4 separate regions of the Homo sapiens genome follow, and regions 2, 3 and 4 are each linked to region 1. Evidence: promoter capture Hi-C in human tissues and cell types (Jung and others, 2019). All regions are on one chromosome and are shown on one strand. The core of a region is centred on a gene start or on the middle of the fragment in contact, and the rest is flanking DNA. Distances in the headings are between cores, read along the strand shown.

The links. Contacts are between HindIII fragments. The study calls those that stand out against the background at their distance.
Region 2: a fragment that was not itself captured here is called in contact with the fragment with the promoter of PAPPA-AS1 in region 1 in 1 of the 25 tissues and cell types used here (IMR-90 fibroblasts).
Region 3: a fragment that was not itself captured here is called in contact with the fragment with the promoter of PAPPA-AS1 in region 1 in 2 of the 25 tissues and cell types used here (H1 embryonic stem cells and IMR-90 fibroblasts).
Region 4: a fragment that was not itself captured here is called in contact with the fragment with the promoter of PAPPA-AS1 in region 1 in 1 of the 25 tissues and cell types used here (H1 embryonic stem cells).

What each region holds. Positions count from the first base shown.
Region 1 is chr9:116,399,313-116,401,906 of GRCh38, forward strand. PAPPA-AS1 (PAPPA antisense RNA 1) reads right to left here and starts at 1,294. Exons shown (of 1, transcript NR_103711.1): 1 at 1-1,294. It overlaps PAPPA (pappalysin 1), which reads left to right. Exons shown (of 22, transcript NM_002581.5): 22 at 1-2,594. The HindIII fragment of the contact is 20,173 bases long and covers 1-2,594 here.
Region 2 is chr9:116,582,335-116,584,928 of GRCh38, forward strand. All of the region lies in intron 19 of ASTN2 (astrotactin 2), which reads right to left. Among named protein-coding and RNA genes, the nearest start is that of ASTN2-AS1, 79 kb to the left of the region's middle. The HindIII fragment of the contact is 4,873 bases long and covers 1-2,594 here.
Region 3 is chr9:116,563,730-116,566,323 of GRCh38, forward strand. All of the region lies in intron 19 of ASTN2 (astrotactin 2), which reads right to left. Among named protein-coding and RNA genes, the nearest start is that of ASTN2-AS1, 61 kb to the left of the region's middle. The HindIII fragment of the contact is 4,002 bases long and covers 1-2,594 here.
Region 4 is chr9:116,540,607-116,543,200 of GRCh38, forward strand. All of the region lies in intron 19 of ASTN2 (astrotactin 2), which reads right to left. ASTN2-AS1 (ASTN2 antisense RNA 1) reads left to right here. Exons shown (of 12, transcript NR_033973.1): 2 at 1-133. Among named protein-coding and RNA genes, the nearest start is that of ASTN2-AS1, 38 kb to the left of the region's middle. RefSeq lists an enhancer at 1-98. The HindIII fragment of the contact is 4,711 bases long and covers 1-2,594 here.

The DNA of each region.
Region 1 (2,594 bases), core at 44-2,543:
CAAAAGAGGCTACTTGATTGGTGGCCAACCTCGTGCCCACATGGAAGGTATCTTTAATAGGGTCTTTTCAAACCTTAGTGGAGGAGGGTCAGCTCAATTTGGGCAATGCATTTGTTCCCAGTTTCATTTTCTTCCTGGGAATTAACTCGTCATTTCATTCCTTCAGTCATCTTCTGTGTAGGTGACCGGAGCACTGAGAGGCAGCTCTGATGCACTATTGTGTGTCAGCAGCTCAAAGGCCCTAAAACACTGAAGGTTCTGCATCTGAAGTATTAGATTGTTAGCAGCAAAATATGAAAGATGAGGTGGACAGTCCTCTAAGCCCTATTTAGGGAAGCTTTTCCAAGCCACAATCTTAACTACCTACCCAAAGGATTTGCATTACCCCCAGATTCTGTGCCAACAACCTTTTAAGGAAATACAGTCCTTGGGAAATGAGTTTTGATGGTGAATTGGGGTGTTAAGGAAGGGAAAGATTGTCATAGATGGTAGGGCTTTGAAAATGCAGGGTATCAGCTGCCACTCCTGGCTTCAACACATTGAGTCACTGCCTAGACGGTTCTCTTGGTCTTATTCCCATCCTGGCCAATGCTTAAATACTATTTGTTGAAAATAATTCTTTGAGACAGATTTCAGCTACCTCCCTTCCAGGTTCGATTTAACTTGGTTGTAATTGTCAATTTGTTGTTATAGGTCTTACCTGTGTGAAAGAAAGAAAAAGAAAGAAAGAAAGAAAGAGAAAGGAAATTATAAGGTCAAGTTAACAGTTTTGAGGTTTTGTGTTTTTTTCTGGAACTACTTCAAGTGAGAAAATAAAAAAAAATGGTGACAAAGCTGTACAGATAGAGATAATAGAAGACAAAGAGATTAAAAGGAAATAAAAATGCATGATTAAAAACTAAGAATAAAAAACCTATTTTTATGTTTCCTAAAGGAAATTGTTTATTCTACAGCCTCAGTAGGTAGACACAAACATAAAGATTTCCCTAGAAGACATAGAGTGGGATTTGATAACACTGTCTGTTATTTTCTGTACATTGTGGTAGGTCCAGGAAATATGACATTTTCCCCCTTGATGTGTTATTGTTGTTGTTGGGTGGGGTGGGCATTTTGTTTATTTGTTTGGTGGCAATCAGTGGTAGTAGGGAGTGGGAGGGCTTATATTGGTTTTTCCAGCTATTAAGGGGACATATTGTGTCGTTGTGCTTTTCACGTTATAAAATGTTTATATTTACCAGTACAGCACTGGGCTTTATAAAGACTGCACTCAGAACCACACTGCACAGTCCAGTTTTTTAAAAAGCTGCTACATGACAGACAGGTAATCCCACTGAGTGAGTTTTGAGAAACAAATCAAACGAAGTAAACAAGAAACATAAAAACCAAATAGCAAATGAATAAAAGCCTGTTCTTGTAACTTATTCAACTTTTGCCAAATTCCTACCAATCACTTGCTTTTTAAAAGAAATGTATAATAGCCAAAAGAGAAATTATGTCCCTGTTGTACAGAAGTTAGAATTTTTGACTCCAGGCAGCAGTTTGCTCAGTGATCTTGAACAAGTTATCCAATTGCCTCTACATTTGCATCAGTTTCTCTAGCTGCAAAATGGGGATAATACTATATACCTACCTCACAGTGGGAGGGCAGGAGATTTTGAGGCCCTGAGGTTTTAGGTGGGCTGTGAGGGCCAACGCTTGACACAAAGTCCATGGGTTATTATTCAAGAATGCACAGGCCCATCGGCCTTTTAGAAAGACAAGACAGGGAGTGCTTGTTTGATATTTCAAGGAATAAAGCCGGAGCTCCTGAATTGTAGTCCACCTTAAAAGAGAGACCTGTATTGGAGAATATTTTATTTTTTTGGCAAATTTGATCTTACCCTTTACCAGTTCTATAATTTGGTTAAAAGCTGATTATGTCCTACAATGTCAAAGTCAGCTAACTGTCGTCTACTTAAGACTTCTGGTCATTTCCAACTTATAGAGGAAGGGAGTCTCTAAAATCTCTTCTTCAGAAGGCACCTCACTTCTCAGACTTAAAATTCCACATCAAGTGTTCCATTAAAAGAAGATAAGGCATTCTGAGTGCAAACAAATGGGGGCTTCTTAAACTACACACCAGCAGTCAGTGAGGAAAACTTTGAACAATTATTGAGTTGCTTTCTTGGGTCTCTATAATCAATAACCTGTCTGCAGATATCTATCTATATAAAGATATTATATATAAATATAAATTTACATATATATGCACATGTATATATAGTTGTACATATATGTGTGTATATATATACTTAAATGTAATATTTACAAAATAAAACTGTGATCTCGTCTAGAGAAAATGTATTCATATTACAAACTGCTCTTCCATATTTATGTACCATATTATACCTTTTTATTATTGTTATAATTATTATGGGTATTTCTAATTAATATGATGTTGAAACCTGTTTGGCACCTTCTGGAAGCTACCAAAAAAATGACACTCCATTGAAGTGCTTAAAAGCTGTTCTCATAAGAATTCTTCTGGCCTATTGTAAAAAAGAAAAAAAAAAAGAAAAAGAAGAAAGACACAAAGAAAATAATCTAAACACCAA
Region 2 (2,594 bases), core at 27-2,526, 180 kb after region 1:
CAGCTTTCCTAGAAAACCATGTATCTTCCCCATGAAAGGAAGAATACAAATAATGATGGTCAAATTTACTGAATGCCTATTATGTGCCACATACTAATGTCCATAGTTAAGAGTCAAACTAAGACCCAAAGCCAAAAGAAAGTATTGTACCCAAGGCCACATAACTAGTAAGTGATGTAACTGAGACTTCAGATATCAAACTAACTCCAAGCCTGTGCTGAACACCGTTCTCTTCATCTACCCAGCCACTTTTTGTTGTTATTGTACCTTTGTTTGTTTATTCTTCCATTCACTCATGCTACCAATGTTCCCTAAGTACTTTCTCTGTGCACGAAACTGTGTAAACACCAGTAAGCATGAGAAAAGATCTATCAGGAAGTTCACAGTTGAGCAAAAGAAACAAGAAACCGTGATCAGGAGGTTTAGAAAAGTTATCTTTCTTTCCAAAGCACCATTCTGATTATGTTTACGATCCTCAAAAGGCTTCAAAGGTTCCCCTTTTCCTACAGGATAAAGTCCAAGTAGCTTAGCCTGTTTTCTTATCCCTCTGAGATCTGGTCCCTGTCTTGTCTCCTCTCGACATCATTCATTCAACATTTGTTAAGTGCTGACTATGTGCCAGACACTGTACCAGAGTCTTGGAATGCAATGCTGAGTGGCACAGACTTAGGCCCTGCTCTCCTGGAGCTTGCAGATATTAATCAAATTATCACACTGATACAGAATTAGGCAATCCTTTAAACTTCCAGTGGTCCAGCCCCACTTGATTCAGGATCCTTCCTTCCAGCAGAGGTTCCCAGCCCAGGAAGTACATAGTCATGCAGTTCTCCTTGGACTCTTTAGATAACCAGTTGATCTTTAATAAAGTGATTTGTCTAATTAATCAACCAGGAACATCTGCTTCTGAAGAGAGAACTTTTCTTGGATCCCATGAATAAATGTTTATTTTATTTTAACATAGTTTTTCAACAACAGGTTAAAATTGCTGGCTACACACTACTATGGAATGCCATGATCTCCCTCCAGAGGAGTCTCTGCTTAAAGTTAATTGCTTATTACTTATGTTCCCAATTTAATCCTAAATTTCAAGAAGGCAGAGTTTTTGCCTATTCTTGCTCATCATCGAATACCCAGCACTTTGCCCAGTGCTAGGCACGCTGTTCTGTACATGTGCTGGTTAGGCATCCTTAACTACATAAAGCCTTAATTCAAAATGAGACTGTGGCAGACATAGATCCTTACCTTAAAAAAAAAAAAAAGTTTTCAGAAGGTGAAACAGAGCCTGAGAGGAAAAGCAACTTTCCAAAAGCCACAGAGAAAGTTGATAGCTTAATTGAAGTTGGAACCAAAGAGAACCAGAAGTCCTGAACTCCTGCTATACCACACCCACTCACACACCTTGAGTCTGAAATGGCAAGGAGGACAGGTCCTCAAAGCAAAAAGGTGCATAACTCGAGGCAGACAGTCTCCCATCCCAAGCTTCTGTTGTACATGAATTTACATCAGAGAGTCACTGAGCCGACTCTTTTAGATGTAGAAGAGACCATCTTCATGGGAGAAACTCTTGCCTGCCCCCAAACAAGACCTCTGACTGAGGAATATATTCAATCACTCCCTCTAACCCAAACTCCCCAAAACACTATTTCCTATTATGTCTCCATAACCAAATTCAACCCACCCAAATCTCAAGATTAGATCTGTGAGCTCACAAAGGCCTAATCACCCAATTAAGAGGAGGAAAACCTGATCCTTTCTAAACAAAGTGAAATGTGAGGTAACCCAGTTGCTGAGATTAAGTCTCACTCAGGAAGAAGCAAAGGAGCTAGGAGAGAATGGGTGGGTCATTCATTAAACGGAATTTTCCAGGAAATTTGAGTGATGTGTCTCCCCAGATCTCAGTGTTCCAGGCCCCAGAACAATGCTGGAGGCAAGGCCCTGGCTTTAGGAGGACCATGGGGGTGAAGACAGCATTACTCTCCTTGCCCGAAATCCCTAGGTACTATCTGGGGCATTCTGATCTCTCACTGGACAAATGGCCTGCTATCAATGATGAACTTTATACTCAGGCCCAAAAAATTCCAAGAGAAAAGTGCTTAGAAAGATAAACTATAGCCCACTACCATCATTTCAATAGACTCAGAAAATTCAACATCCATTTCAAATGGAAACAAAACAAAGCTTTTGCAGCAAACTAGAAATAGAAGATACCTCCTTCCATGTAATAAAGGGCATATACCATAAAAAAATACAACTAGCATTATACTTAATGGTGAAAGACTAAACGTCTAAAATTAGAAAAAAGGCAAAGATGTCTGTTCTTACCACTTCTGTTCATATAGTACTAAAAGTCCTAGCTACAGCAATTAGACAAGTAATAAATAAATAAAAGTCATCCAAATTGGAAAGGAAGAAGTATAATTGTCTCTGTTTGCAGATGACATGATCATACATATAGAACACTTTAGGAAGAACTGAGTTTTCCAACACTGGAGGCATGTTACCAGTGCATGTTCAAGGGCATACAAAAATGTTAAAGAGAAAGCAAGACTAGATGATCTCTTAAGATCCTTCCAACTCTGATACAGAAGAGGTAC
Region 3 (2,594 bases), core at 49-2,548, 160 kb after region 1:
ACTTTTTTCCTTTTCCTGTCTCCCTTTCCTTCTAGAATCATCTTTTAGAGCTGAGTGAATGGTGTCTCTGGATTGCATCTGCAACCTGACGTTCCAGAATGCTGGCTCCATGAAGACAAGGAGTTTTCTCTCTTTGGTTAACTGCTGATACCAGTGCCTGGTACATAGTAAGAACTCAATAGATATTTGTTGAATAACTGAATTGGTAAGCAGATAAAAAGCATGGGAGATTTTAAGGACAAAGAAGAGAGGTAGAGGACAAGCATTTATATACCATAAACTCTTTGCAAAGCACATGGATTACAGAACTAGTTTAAGATTGATATTTTGTCTATTTTACAGTTGAGTAAGTGGAAGCTCAGAATGGTAAAGTGACTAACCCAGTGCCACACATCAAATAAGTAGAGAAGTCCAGAGTCGAACCTAAACCTGATTCAAATAGTTAAAATGACATAGGCCTGATTAACTTTTAGTGATCTCAGGTGGCTCTTTGGGTCTTGCTCTTCCATGTTAATGCACTTCTCCCCTGAACTAAACATGTAGCTTTCTGAGGTGGCCCAAAGTGCATGGAACTGATTGCCTCCCAGTCATGGGATGGATAAATGATGGCATGGCAACCCTTGGGGCTGGAGATGACTCAGCAGACCAGAGCTGGAAAAAGAGCCCACCTCTCCCCACCCTAAACATCTCATTCATTCTCTAATGTCAGGTGCCTTGCTACCCCCATGCTGGGACAGTTAATAGCTCACCCAATAAACGGGTGTGTAACAAAGTCTACTGCAAGGCCATCGTTACTTGCAGTATCAAGTAATGATACTTGCATCAACTTTGGCTGATCTCTGTGCTGGCCACATGATTAATTCCAACTGGTTGTTGTCCCCTGCCTGGGGTCATTCAGAAATCCTTCACTTCTTGGCTGATAGTCTACAGATTCCCAGTGCTTGTGAAAGGATTCGAGAGTTTTCTTCCTCCCTCCCATTCTTCTTTCCTTCATTACTTCATTTATTTATTTTTTCATATAGTCATATATAGATCTAGTTATTCATTCATTCATGGATTCATTTATTCATTAATTAATTTACTCAAATATTTCTATGATACTAATTTATAATCTGTATTCATTCATAAATGCATACACAGATTCAGTTTCTTAATCAACTCAGGTATTGTAAGGGATATGATGAGAGTTATCTCATCTTGGAGAAATCACTTAACTCCTCTAAGCATCATTGTCCAATTGAAGGAGGTAGACTTAGAGTACAAACCTAAGCCAGCTAGAACCAAACGCCTCATTCAACTCAATAATTCCTTGAGTTTAAGATATGTAAGACACAACACTGCCTTACAATATTTTCTAGTCTATTTCATATATTTTCCATCCCAACCTAGTGTGATTCATATGTTTTCCATCCCAACCTAGTATACACATGCATGTATATATGACTGAAATGCAAGCTTTATGAAAAAATCCTTAGGCTTGCCACAAACACACACACACACACACACACACACACACACACACACACACATATGCCCCATACTGAGGAGATTAACAAGTAAACAAATACATTCAGGATAATGTATGTATAATACATTCAGGATAATGTTTTTAAGACACTGTTTCTCTCTCTCTCTCTCTCTCTCTCTCTCTCTCTCTCCATATATATATATATATATATATATATATATATATATATATATTTATTTATTTATTTTGAGACAGTGTCTCACTTCATCACCCAGGCTGGAGTGCAGTAGTGTGATATCGGCTCACTGCAACCTCCAGTCACACCCTTCCCTCCACCTGCCCACCCATTCCCACCCCGGACCCCAAGCTCAAGTGATCTTCCCACCTCAGCCTCAGTCTCCTGAGTAACTGGGACCATGGGCACACACCACCATGTGGCCTGGCTATTTTTTTGTTTGTATTTTTAGCAGAGACAGGGTCTCGCCATGTTGTCCAGGCTGGTCTTGAACTCCTGGACTCAAGAGATCCACCTGTCTCAGCCTCCCAAAGGGCTGGGATTACAGGCATGAGCCACCACACTCAGCCTACATCCTATTTTCTTTTTTTAAATGTTGGCTCCAATCCAATAAGTTGACTTTACAACCTACTAATGGATTATGACCTGAAGTTAGAAAACTATGGTGTAGAAGATCTAGAGAGAGACCTTCGATTACAAGTACATATAACACAAGCTGGATACTTGGATACTGTTTTAGACTCTTCACTCATCTTCCACATCCAGCAGCCTTCTACATGTGTAAGCTCTGTCTCTTACATAGCCCTCCAGTCCATCCTCCAAGCTGCAGCCAGTGATCATTCTAAAATATGCCTCTGATGGAAAGTCTGTAATAGTCTTCACTTGTCTACACTATAAAAGAAAAAAACAATAAATGCATCTAATTCCTTAGTCTTGTCTGGCCTTGATTTCTCCTCCAGGGTCATTTCTCACTAATTCTGCTTTTGTATCTCATGTTGAATCAATGTTGAGTCATGCACAAGTCCTTGAATCTTTCATGTTCTTTCATATGTTGGGCCTTTGCTTTTGAAGATTTTTCTGCCTGGAATTCCCATTTCACCCAATACTGGG
Region 4 (2,594 bases), core at 60-2,559, 140 kb after region 1:
CGTCTGTGTGCAGGGCACCAAGCAGGCCATCTAAAGCCACTAATCTCAAAGAGAGCTTACCCAGGGACAGGACTTTCCAAAAGGAAAGGAGCACAATAGAAGAGAATGGCTGCTGCTAAGTTCCATCCAACAGGTGAATTTAGTGGATTTTAAAATTCCTTTTTAGTTGCTGGTCTTCATAAGAGATTATTTTTGTCTAAAATGCAAGCACCCATTTTTATCTTGCAGTCTCCAAAATAATTGAGAAATTGGAAATGCCTAAATGTCCAGCACTAAATAAATGATTAATAATATTTGAGATACCCATATTATGAAACAGTATATGAACATGAAAATTTTTACAAAAGTTTTTCCCCTAGTTTTGAAACTAGGGGAAAAAGTTTGAATGCCACATCTAATGAAAAAAAAAAGCAGAAAAAAATATACATGACATTCTCCACTATATAAGGAATGGACATTGAGGAAAGAAATATGCCAAAATTATGATATTATTAGGCTGGTATAGTTGTAACTTACTCATGTTTCTGCATTCCCATTCTATAATAAATGTGTCATACTCTTTTCTATCATAAAATTAATTTTACACAATTTTAAACATTTTTCTTATAACAGAAAATAAAATGTGATCATAGTAGGAAATTTAGGCGGGAAAGAGAAAATATAAATCTGCCAGATCTAACACAAAGAAAATAACTGATAATATAACATTTTGGTATATACTCTTATAGTCATTTTTTCTTGAACAGATGGACAATACAGAGAGTGAGAAAGGGTCTATAATCTTATGAGCCACTGCAAGTTCTACCCAACCTATAATGAGAGCAGGCCCCAACACATGGAACACTGGGCCCTTGTTGCCATGGTTTTCCTAGTTAACTCTATTGCTTTAATCATAGTTAATTGGACTGAGAGTAAAAACTTAACCCAAGGTGATCCACTCACATTTATTGCCCAGGAATTACAGCTGATAGTACTAAGGTACCAGGAAGATAGGCAGTGGATGAAACACTGCACCAGATTGGGGAAGTGACTCTAACCATGGGCAGATGGAAGCAGAGACAGAACAAGGCAAGAGCTGATGGGCCCTCCAAAGACTGAGAGAATAGCACATGTGGTGTCTAATAACTTCTCAGATTCTGTGTCTTCTTGATTTATAAGATTTCCCCTTCAGCTCTCAATAAAGACATCCACATCCCTAAAACCAGAAGTGCTTTAATTATATACCATTTTAAATTAAATTTTTAAATTTTAAGATAATTGTAGATTCATATGCAGTTATAAGAAATAATAGAGAGAGACCTTGTGTACTCTTTACCCAGTTTTCTCCTGTGGTAACATCTTGCAAACCTATAATTCAATATCACAGCCAGGATACTGGTATCGACACAGTCAAGAAACAGAACATTTTCATTACCACAATTATTTCTCATGATTTTTTTTATAGTCACACTACTTTCCTCTTGCTCCTGCTCCACATACTATTTTGTAAAATGTTTTCTGCAATAGTAATATTTAAATGACTGTCTTTTATTTCCTTTTTATTAAACATTATTTAACTGAACCCTAATAAACACCCTTACATGTAAATCTTTTATAAATAACTTTTCTTAGAATAAGCAAATTCTCTTGATACATATTGCTAATTTGCCTTCAAGAAAGTTTGACAAATTTACATTAGCACCAACAAAATATTTTTAATGAAATAAAAAGGTAACATAAACTTTTAGTGGTTTATAAGATCTTCTGAGATCCATCATTTACAAGGGTGCCTAATAAATTCTGCCACTTCAATTGAGCAAGTTGTTTTAAAATCAGATCAGTTCAAGTTAATATGTTTATTACTTTTGGTCAAAGATCATTGCAAGGGTATTAGAAAAAAATATAAATTCAATGTTAACTTTAAAAACAACTTAGAAAAACCTGAACAAAGCCAAGTTATATATATTCTGGGAAAAAAATAGATTACATTTTGGAGTTACAAAAGAGAATCATCAGTCCCATCCATCAAAATGTTGTTTTAAGACTATTATTTTTGGCTGGGTGTGGTGGCTCATACCTGTAATCCCAGCACTTCTGGAGGCTGAAGTGGGCTGATCACCTGAGCTCAGGAGTTCAAGACCAGCCTGGGCAACATGGAGAAGCCCTTCCAAAAATACAAAAAGTAGCTGGGCATGGTGGCAGGTGCCTGTAATCCTCCCAGCTACTTGAGGGGCTGAGGCAGGAGGATTGCTTCAGCCTGGGAGGCAGAGATTGCAGTGAGCTGAGATTGTGCCACTGCACTACAGCCTGGGTGACAGAGCAAAACTCTATCTCAAAAAAACAAAACAAAACAAAAGACTATTATTTTTGGTATAAGCTTGATGTTCACCTTTGGAATCATCCAGCTGAAAAAAAAATCATATAGTATCTTGTTGGACAGAAATATTTTTGGAACTCTCTTTTAAATTGATTATAACCTCTACTAGATAAGCACCCTAAAGACCATCCGGCACATTTTTTGGTTGGTTGGTTGTTTTTGCATGCATAGAAAAAATTGAAAGAAAATGAAGAGAGTTCTTCATAATCACAGGTATAGAGATTATAGCATAAGGGCA